3 separate regions of the Homo sapiens genome follow, and all the other regions are linked to region 1. The links are contacts of gene promoters, found by promoter capture Hi-C in human tissues and cell types (Jung and others, 2019). All regions are on one chromosome and are shown on one strand. The core of a region is centred on a gene start or on the middle of the fragment in contact, and the rest is flanking DNA. Distances in the headings are between cores, read along the strand shown. Region 1 holds the start of ALS2CL (ALS2 C-terminal like). Region 2 overlaps LRRC2 (leucine rich repeat containing 2). Region 3 has its middle 6.2 kb from the start of RTP3.

Region 1 (2,960 bases), core at 336-2,835:
AGGAACGGGCAGAAGTTAAGCATGGCTGGTGAGGCAGTGGGTTGGGGGAAGGCCGCAGTGGAAGCTGGGATTCTGGTTAGGTGACCCTGAGGGACCCAGCTCCCAGGCTAGGGAGTCTGGGGCTTCATCCTGGAAGTGATGAGGAGAGTGTAAGTGCAGGGGTGAGGCAGCGTGAATGTGCATGAGTGTGCACGTTTGCAGGGCAGGAGGAGGAGGTGCTGAACCTTAATATGAGGAGGATCCTGCAGGAGTACCCCCCTCCCCAACCCCTGTCCCATCCCTAACCTTCCCCCTTCCAGTCAAGGGCATAGCTTCCTCACCCTCTCCCTCCCTCCAGTTCAAAGGTTCCTTAGTGACAGGCTGTGCCTAATGTACAGATGGGGAAACTGAGGCCCAGGAACAATGGGAGGGTCCAGAGACCCTTGTGTAGAACTTGTGCAGGGCTCAGACCCAGACTTCTGGCTCCAGCCCACCAGGTTCACCTAGCTAGATGGCTCAGAGAGGGTGGGCAACTCACCTGAGGCACAGAGCAAGATCCTGACGGGCCCTGCCTCACAGCTGTCCTCAGGCAGCCCTGATGCTCACCACGGGGTGCGGTGGGGTGGGGCAGGGTGAGGACAGAACTGGCCAGTCACGGCGTGCCCAGGTGAGTCAGCGGCTGCCCCTGTGGCGCTCTAACCAGTAGCCAGACCTGGTCTCTCCTCTGCATTCCTGGCCTCTGTCCACGCTAGGTCCCTCCCGGGCAGGGTCACTGGGGCCTTCCCTGTCCTCTCCCAGGCCTGGCTCCTTAGGCCCCTGACACACCTTGTCGTGACACTCACTCACTCTGGTATTTCCTGGTCTGAACAGGCAGGGAAGTTCTGCCTGCTGTGGAGGCTTTTTCATGGGCTGCCGTGGCAGCCCCTTCGTTGTCTGGTGCCCAGTGGGGGAGAGTAGAGACACGCACTGCCCCAGGGAGGGGGCGCTGAACTGTCACACCTGATCCCTCAGTCTCATGCTCGCCTCTCCCCGCTGCACCCTTCCTCGGCCCCACCATGGCTACAAGCCTCTTGTCCTAGACAAGCACCCCTCCCTGCTGTCGCATATGTCCCAGCTTCCCTTCCTCTCCCTGCCCAGGCACACACTCAGTCGCTGGAGTTTCCCAGACCCGAGCTCCTGTTCCGGCCGCCAGGCATTTGCCATGCCGCTCCCATGCGAAAAGGCCACCTCCTGGAATCCCGGGTCGGGCCCTTCCGCCCTAACCAGCCGGCGTCACCTCCTCCTGGCAGTCTCTCCTGCTGGCTGGGGCCCCGTGGCCCTGCCACCACGGCTCAGGTCAGGCCCGGGGCGCTGCCCCGAACCCAAGCAGGCTAGCAGCCAGGCAGGGAGGACGACGCTGTGAGCGGGGTATCTTACGAGGGACTCGGACGGCCGGGGGATGACTGCCGCCGGGACCAAGGAGCTGGGCGGGGACCGCAGCAGCCGAGGAGGCGGGAGCCCCCACCTGGACGAGCTAAGCGTGGAGCGCAGACACCCGTCCGCAGACGCGCGCCCTTCGTCGCGCCCTTACCTGAGCGCTGTGGTTGCCCCGCGCCGGGACTGCCTGTGCGGCTCCTCGCTCGCACCCCCACCCTGCCCCCTGCCAGTCCCGCCCCCTGCCAGCCCCGCCCCCTTCGCCCAGCCCCGCCCCGCCCCGCCTCCGGGTGTTGCTCTGGAGTTGCGGGGGCCACGGGCGGGCCACCGAGGAGCTGGCGCGCGGTATTGATCCGTCCCGCCGCCCCAAGCCTCTCCTGAGGCCTCCCTCTGGCGTCCCCCGGGATCCGGAGGCCCCTGGGACCCGGCGCGGGGAGGAAAAGTGGGAGTCTTGACCCCTCCGCCCCCTACGCACCCACGCGCACACTCAGGCTCGCCTCTCGCGCCCCGCTTCCCCTGCAAGGCTCCGAGGCCGCCGTGCCACCACCTCGCCCCGCCAGTCAGTCGCTCTGCGAGCCTGTGGTGCAGCCCCGTGACCTCCCGGGTCTGCCCTGAGTCACAGAAGCCAGCACACGCGGAGCGCTGTGTGGGTTCGTGGAACTTGGAGCCTGTAGAGGGGTATACTGAGGCGCCCTGCGGCCCCCTGGGCTGGGTGTCCACGGCCGGCCGCCCCTCCTGTGCGACCTTGGGGAAGTCCCCTTTCCTCCCCACTCCTGAGTCTCAACAGGCCTAGTAGAGCATGAAGCCGGCCGCGTGTGCTTTGTGCGAAGGCCTGAGACCTTGGAAAGGGTGGCTGAAGACTTATCTGGGACAGACCCCCCGGGAGCGGGAGGGAACTTAGTTCAAACCTGTAACAAAGAAGCCCCCCGTCAGCAGCCTGATTCCCCCTCTGGCCACCAGGTTAGTCACCCATTGCTCTCAGTGGCACTCAGGTTCCAGTGAGGGGGAGGCTCAGGGTCCAAGGCGGCCGTGGAAGAGCAGAAAGGGTGGCCCACCAGCCCCCTACTCAGCCCCCTACTGAGGAGGTGGGAGGCATCCCCCAACCTGCCAGGCTGAAGAGACCCCCAGTGGAGGTAAGTAGGGGCCTGGGGCCTGCCAAGCTCATCCCCTGGCTCCCTTGGGTTGTTGCGAGGTGGGAGTTTACTGTCTGCCAAGCTGCACATCACCCCTTGGAGGGTTTCCAGCCTGGGACCCTTGTCTGAGTGACTGCAGGTCCCAGTGACCTCACCCTTTTGCCCCACATTGCTCTCCTCCTGGGTCCCAATCCTGCAGAGCCGCCCCTTCCTGCTTCTCCATCCCTCCCCACATTGCCAAAGCCCGCCCTAGCTCTGGCCTCCCCTTTTCCAGCCTTGTTTTCTTGCCCCCTTCTGCACCCCCTGCTGCCTGAGGGGCTCCACTCCCAAAGGCCTTGCTCCTCTGGTCCCTGCCTGCTAGAGGTGTTGCTGTGTTGGTGGGTGGGGGCTACCTCAAGGAGGCTTCTGGTGAGGTGTCCCTCTGGCCCTCTGGGA
Region 2 (2,750 bases), core at 96-2,595, 130 kb before region 1:
AGAAAGTAGTTCAAATGAGAGTCCATGTGTCAGTCCAGGGTAAGGAGGAGACCCTCCATCCAGGGGAGAAACCACACTGGGGAGCCCATAGGACACAGTTGTCAGGGACAGACACAGGTGCCAGTCCCTCAGCAGCTCAGGGGAGAGATCTCCTCACAAATTTACAAAGCTAATCTCTTCTTTGTAAAATAAACTCTAGTCAACACAATCTTTCAGGCAAAGACATAGAATGCAATGTCCTAAGCATTAACTTTCTTTAGGACTATAGAAATGTCATCATCATCATATGCTACCCCAACACAGAAAAGGGAAAAATTAACCTCTACGGGATCCAGTCAAGAGACCCTCAATACAAACAAAGCAATATCCTCTTATAGGAAACTTTACAACGAAGTAGATTCTACAAAGCAGCCTAAGTGTAAAGCTTCAGCCTGGACCCTCGTTGAATTTGACAGCAAAGTGTCATGGTTCCAAGACAGCATCTGATTCCGGTTCCCTGCTGTGGGTCTGGTTTTGTGTGGTTGTAGCAGAATTATGAGAACAAGCCTCCCTCAATTTGGGCTACACTGTCCACAGTCACAGAGCATCTTCCAGAGAAGAAAACACCTGCAATGATGAGACAGAAGGAGAACGGTGGCATCTCTCACTGTAAAGGAAAGAACACTGGGGCCACAAAGTGTCATCAGCCATGTTCCTCTCCAGTCCAAGGACTCCCAGACACTTAGTGTTCCAGCTCCTGAGTGAAAATGTTAACCATCAGCACACTCTCAAAGGTTAGATTAAGGAAAATAATGCCTGGAAAATCTTTTGTTTTAGTACAGGGCTGAGAAAACTTGATGGTAAATAATAGAGGTTTCCCAGGCCAATAAGCAAAATTGAAGATATATGTAGGCGTTTACATAACAAAGGAGAACCCTCTGGCGAGCCTCTCCCTGCTTGCCCCCAGAGAACCATCCGGAGTAGTTAGCATGTTTCATGTCCAGCTGCTGCTTGCCAAAAACATTCTCAGAACAAGAGGGACTAGCCCAAGAGGGAAAGGGCTAGTAGGTATGGTGAAAAAGGGGCAGGGTGGCTGGGTGCAGTGGCTCCCACCTGTAATCACAGCACTTTGGGAGGCTGAGGTGGGTGGATTGCTTAAGCTCAGGAGTTTGAGAGCAGCCTGGGCAACATGGCAAAACCCTGTCTTTACCAAAAATAAAAAATAAAATGAATAAATAAAATAGCTGGGTGGTGGCATGCATCTGTGGTCCCAGCTACTAAGGAGGTTGATGTGAGAGGATCACTTGGGCCTGGGAGGCAGATGTTGCAGTGAGCTGAGATTGCATCAGTGCACTCCAGCCTGGGTCTCAAAAAAACAAAAAGAGAGGGGAGAGGTTGGCAGGGGAAGGGGCCGGGGAGTGAGCCTGCTGCAGTCCATTTCTTTCTCTGCCCCAGTATCACCCAGACAGGTGCCTGTGTGTCCTTCTCTCCTCCCGTCATCACAAGTTGGATAGCTGGCTGGAAGCAAGGTGACCTACTCAGTCACCAGCTCCTGAACTGAGATTCCATTGCTTGGTTGCTAACAATAGAGTCTCCAATGTGTAGATGGCAACCAGGGTGGGCCCTGGACTGCAGCAAGGTACAGCTGGCCAGGTGGACAGGAGCTGAGAGCAGTGGGGGAGTAGAAACAGAAGAAAATACCCCAGCTTGGTCCCCAGATGCTCCAGCAGTGCCCACATTCCATATGTAAACAGGTGCCAGGCCTGCAGGTTATAGTTTACTGATCCTAGCTTTAGTGGACAATAAAATGTAAAATATTTTGCTTTGGTGGATGTGATGGTTTTAAACTATATCCACAAAGTCTTTCACATTCTTCCCTTTAAAAAGGTAGAACTTAATTCCTCCCCCCTTGAGCATGGGCTAGACTTAGTGACTCACTTCTAATGACTAGAATGTGGTGAAAGTAATGGTGTGTGGCTTCTGAGACTAGGTCTTCACTCTCTGTCAGATCACTCACTCTAGGAAGTCAGCTGCCATGTCATGATGATGCTCAAGCAGCCTTGTGGAAAAGCTTCACAAGGAGAGGAACTGAGGCCTCCTGTCAACAGCCATGAGAGGGGGCTGTCTTAAAAGCAGATCCTCCATCCCCAGTCAAGCCTTCAGATGACGGCAGCCCCTGTGGACATCTTGACCACAACTTCATGAGACCCTAAGCCAGAAACACTCAGCTAAACTGCCCTGGATTTCTGACTCTCAGAAACTGTGAGATAATAAATGTGTGTTATTCTAAACTAACAGTCTAGAATAAACTGTTATGCAGCAATAAATAACCAAGACAGTGGATTTTTATAAAAGACACTTTAAAAATCAGTCTTAACTTCTGGTGCCATCTGGTGTGCATGTTCAGCTGCCTCCTTGAATATGCACTTGGATGTCTCACACATATCTCAAAGAAACATGATGTTCTCCAAACTTGCTCCTTTAGAGTTTGTCCATCCTAGGCCTCCTTTAATTCCACACCTCAGGAATGACTCCATCATAATCTAGAAGATCTAGAAGTTACTTCTTTTTTTTTTTTTTTGAGATGAAGTCTCACTCTGTCACCCAGGCTGGAGTGCAGTGGCACAATCTCAGCTCACTGCAAACTTCACTTCCTGGGTTCAAGCAATTCTTCCTCAGCCTCCTGAGTAGCTGGGATTACAGGCAAAAGCCACCATATCCGGCTAATTTTTGTATTTTTAGTAGAGATAGGGTTTCACCATGTTGACCAG
Region 3 (2,795 bases), core at 219-2,718, 190 kb before region 1:
CCAGCAGGTCAGCAGGAAAGTGAAAGGAGACCCACACCCCTCCCTGAGCTCCCACTATCTCCCAGTATACAAAGGCCAGAGATGGCCTCCTCCCAGCAACACACGAGGGCCCAGTGCAGTATTCAGAAAGAGTTGACAGTGAGTGTCTAGGCTGGGAATTGACCCTGTTCCAAGGAGAGTGGCCTCTGGGTTGGAAGACTGAGGTGAGTGTATGGAGGGTCATGACAAAGCCACCCCCTAGGGGAAGGGAAGAGAGTACCAAGCCTGCCCTGGCTTTGCCAGATAAGGGATGGTAATGCAAGCTGGTATTTATGTTGATAAATATCTGTTTCCAGAGTGGGTAGGCCTGGGTGACAGTAGAGGGTGTTCCAAATAGATCCTGGAATTATGTTTGTCAAGCTTAAGCAGATGAGAGACCAGCATTGGCTTATGGGCCCTTCCCTGCACAGGCATACTGTCTAAGTCTGTTTACGTTGCTGTAAAGGAATAGCTGAGTCTGGGTAATTTACAAAGAAAAGAGGCTTGTTTCATTCACAGTTCTGCAGAGTGTACAAGTAGCATGGCACTAGCATCTGCTTCGAGTGAGGGCCTCAGGCTGTGTCTGCTCATGACAGGTGAAGGAGAGCCAGCACAAGTAGGGATCACATGGGGAAAGAGGAAGCAAGAGAGGTGCGGGGTGGTGCCGGGTTCTAACAACTGACTCTGGCAGGAACTAAGAGCTAGAACTCACTCATTACACCAAGGATGGCACCAAGCCATTCATGAAGGATTCGTCCCCATAATCCAAACATTTCCCATTAGGCCCCACCTCTAACACTGGGGGTCCAATTTCATCATGAAGTTTAAAAGGTCAAATATTCAAAATATAGCACGTTCCTAGCACCCTTCCACATAAACAGCTGCTCTTCATCCTCGGAATACCCACAGTGGCTGGGGCATTGTCCACAGCTGCTCAGAGCCCAAGGCCAGAAGCTTCTAGGACTTCTATTCCAGATTTTCTCCCCTGCACCCTCCCCCTTTCCCTGAAGTTGAGAGTCAGTGGGAGGAGCACAGAGAGAGAGGCTGAAAGAAAAGAAATAGTCAAAAGGGAGAATTTAAGAGGGCCCTTAAATCTAGGTAACCTTTGAGATGAGCAAAGTAATATTGAGAAACAAAACTGGTGGAGATGAGGGGAGACTGCCACAGTGTGAGTCTGCTGAGGAAGGAGCCAGTTAGGCTGAAAACATGGGTTCTCAGGGAGTGGTCTCCCTGGGGCCACCTGTGACTGAGGGGTAAGGCAGGATGCACCACTGAGGAGGGAGAGATATCCTGTTTAGTTTTTCTTTAAAGTTTATTATTTCTTATGGTATGTTTTTATAATGTATGCAAATATATTAGAATAATGGTATGCATAAGTATGCAGAGGATGCATGAATAACAAATACACACACATTTGGAATGCATGCTCAATTTTTTTTAACCCCATTGTCCAATCAAAAACACTGGGACTGAGGCCAGGCTTGGTGGCTCATGCCTGTAATCCCAGCATTTTGGGAGGCCGAGGCGGGAGGATCACGAGGTCGGGAGATCGAGACCATCCTGGCTAACACAGTGAAACCCCGTCTCTACTAAAAATACAAAAAAAAAAAATTAGCCAGGCATGATGGCGGGCACCTGTAGTCCCAGCTACACGGGAGGCTGAGGCAGGAGAACGGTGTGAACCTGGGAGGTGGAGCTTTTGGTGAGCCGAGATCACGCCACTGCACTCCAGCCTGGGCGACAGAGAGAGACTCCGTCTCAAAATAAAACAAAACAAAAAAGACAAACAACAATAACAACAACAACAACAACAAAAACATTGAGACTGACATTTTGGGCTGGATGATCACAAAAATAATAAAAATAATAAAAAAGAAATACTGAGGACTCCCATTCTAAAGGAGCAAATGTGGAAGTCTGTGGACAGATTCTTACCAGGTGTATTAGTCCATTCTCACGCTGCTATGAAGAAATACCCAAGACTGGGTAATTTATAAAGAAAAGAGGTTTAATTGACTCACAGTTCCACATGGCTGGAGAGGCCTCAGGAACACAATCATGGCAGAAGGCACCTCTTCACAGAGTGGCAAAAGAGAGAATGAGTGCCAAGCAAAGCGGGGAAAGTCCCTTATAAAACCATCAGATCTCGTGAGAACCCACTAACTATCACAAGAATAGCATGAGGGTAACCGCCCCCATGATTCAATTACCTCCCAGTGGGCCCCTCCCATGACTCGTGGGGATTATGAGAAATACAATTCAAGACGAAATTTGGGTGGGGACACTTTCAAACCATATCACCAGGACTCTGAAACCAAAGCAGTCTTTTGAACATGCTCTGTCTTGATTAATGACATTAATTTTAAGACTCCTTCTCACACCTTTTTTTAAAAAAACTAGAAATGTGAATCCTTCCATTTATGCAATGGAAATTAGTGTAATAGTCACTTACAGCCAATAACTTCTTTTCACTCACCCCATCCCCATCCTCTCCCCATCTGCCCCCCTCCATCGACTGGAGTTGTGCCTTGCCTGCATCCTAGTGCTCCCTCTAGGGCACATTGCATCCTCACATTGTCCTTCTGGAATGTCATTCTGGCAGTTCACATCTCCCACCTGTCCCCTCAAACCACACCTACAACCATGCCTTGGCTAATTTATCTTTCCCACTCCTAGGCTTTTGCTCACAAATTCCCTCTGCCTCTTCTTAGCTACTCATGAGACCATGTCCATCTTTTAATTCCCTACTGAAGTGACAGTATCCCTGCGGTGCCTCC

Evidence for each region. Contacts are between HindIII fragments. The study calls those that stand out against the background at their distance.
Region 2: a contact is called between a fragment that was not itself captured here and the fragment with the promoter of ALS2CL in region 1, in 2 of the 25 tissues and cell types used here (liver and spleen).
Region 3: a fragment that was not itself captured here is called in contact with the fragment with the promoter of ALS2CL in region 1 in 2 of the 25 tissues and cell types used here (mesendoderm cells and spleen).

What each region holds. Positions count from the first base shown.
Region 1 is chr3:46,692,094-46,695,053 of GRCh38, forward strand. ALS2CL (ALS2 C-terminal like) reads right to left here and starts at 1,586. Exons shown (of 26, transcript NM_147129.5): 1 at 1,550-1,586. It also overlaps a transcript of TMIE not described here. RefSeq lists enhancers at 150-941, 2,523-2,960 and silencers at 1,386-1,680, 1,411-1,660, 1,811-1,890. The HindIII fragment of the contact is 18,920 bases long and covers 1-2,960 here.
Region 2 is chr3:46,560,187-46,562,936 of GRCh38, forward strand. All of the region lies in intron 1 of LRRC2 (leucine rich repeat containing 2), which reads right to left. Among named protein-coding and RNA genes, the nearest start is that of LRRC2-AS1, 4.2 kb to the left of the region's middle. RefSeq lists an enhancer at 2,731-2,750. The HindIII fragment of the contact is 5,010 bases long and covers 1-2,750 here.
Region 3 is chr3:46,502,798-46,505,592 of GRCh38, forward strand. No RefSeq gene overlaps it. Among named protein-coding and RNA genes, the nearest start is that of RTP3, 6.2 kb to the left of the region's middle. The HindIII fragment of the contact is 6,994 bases long and covers 1-2,795 here.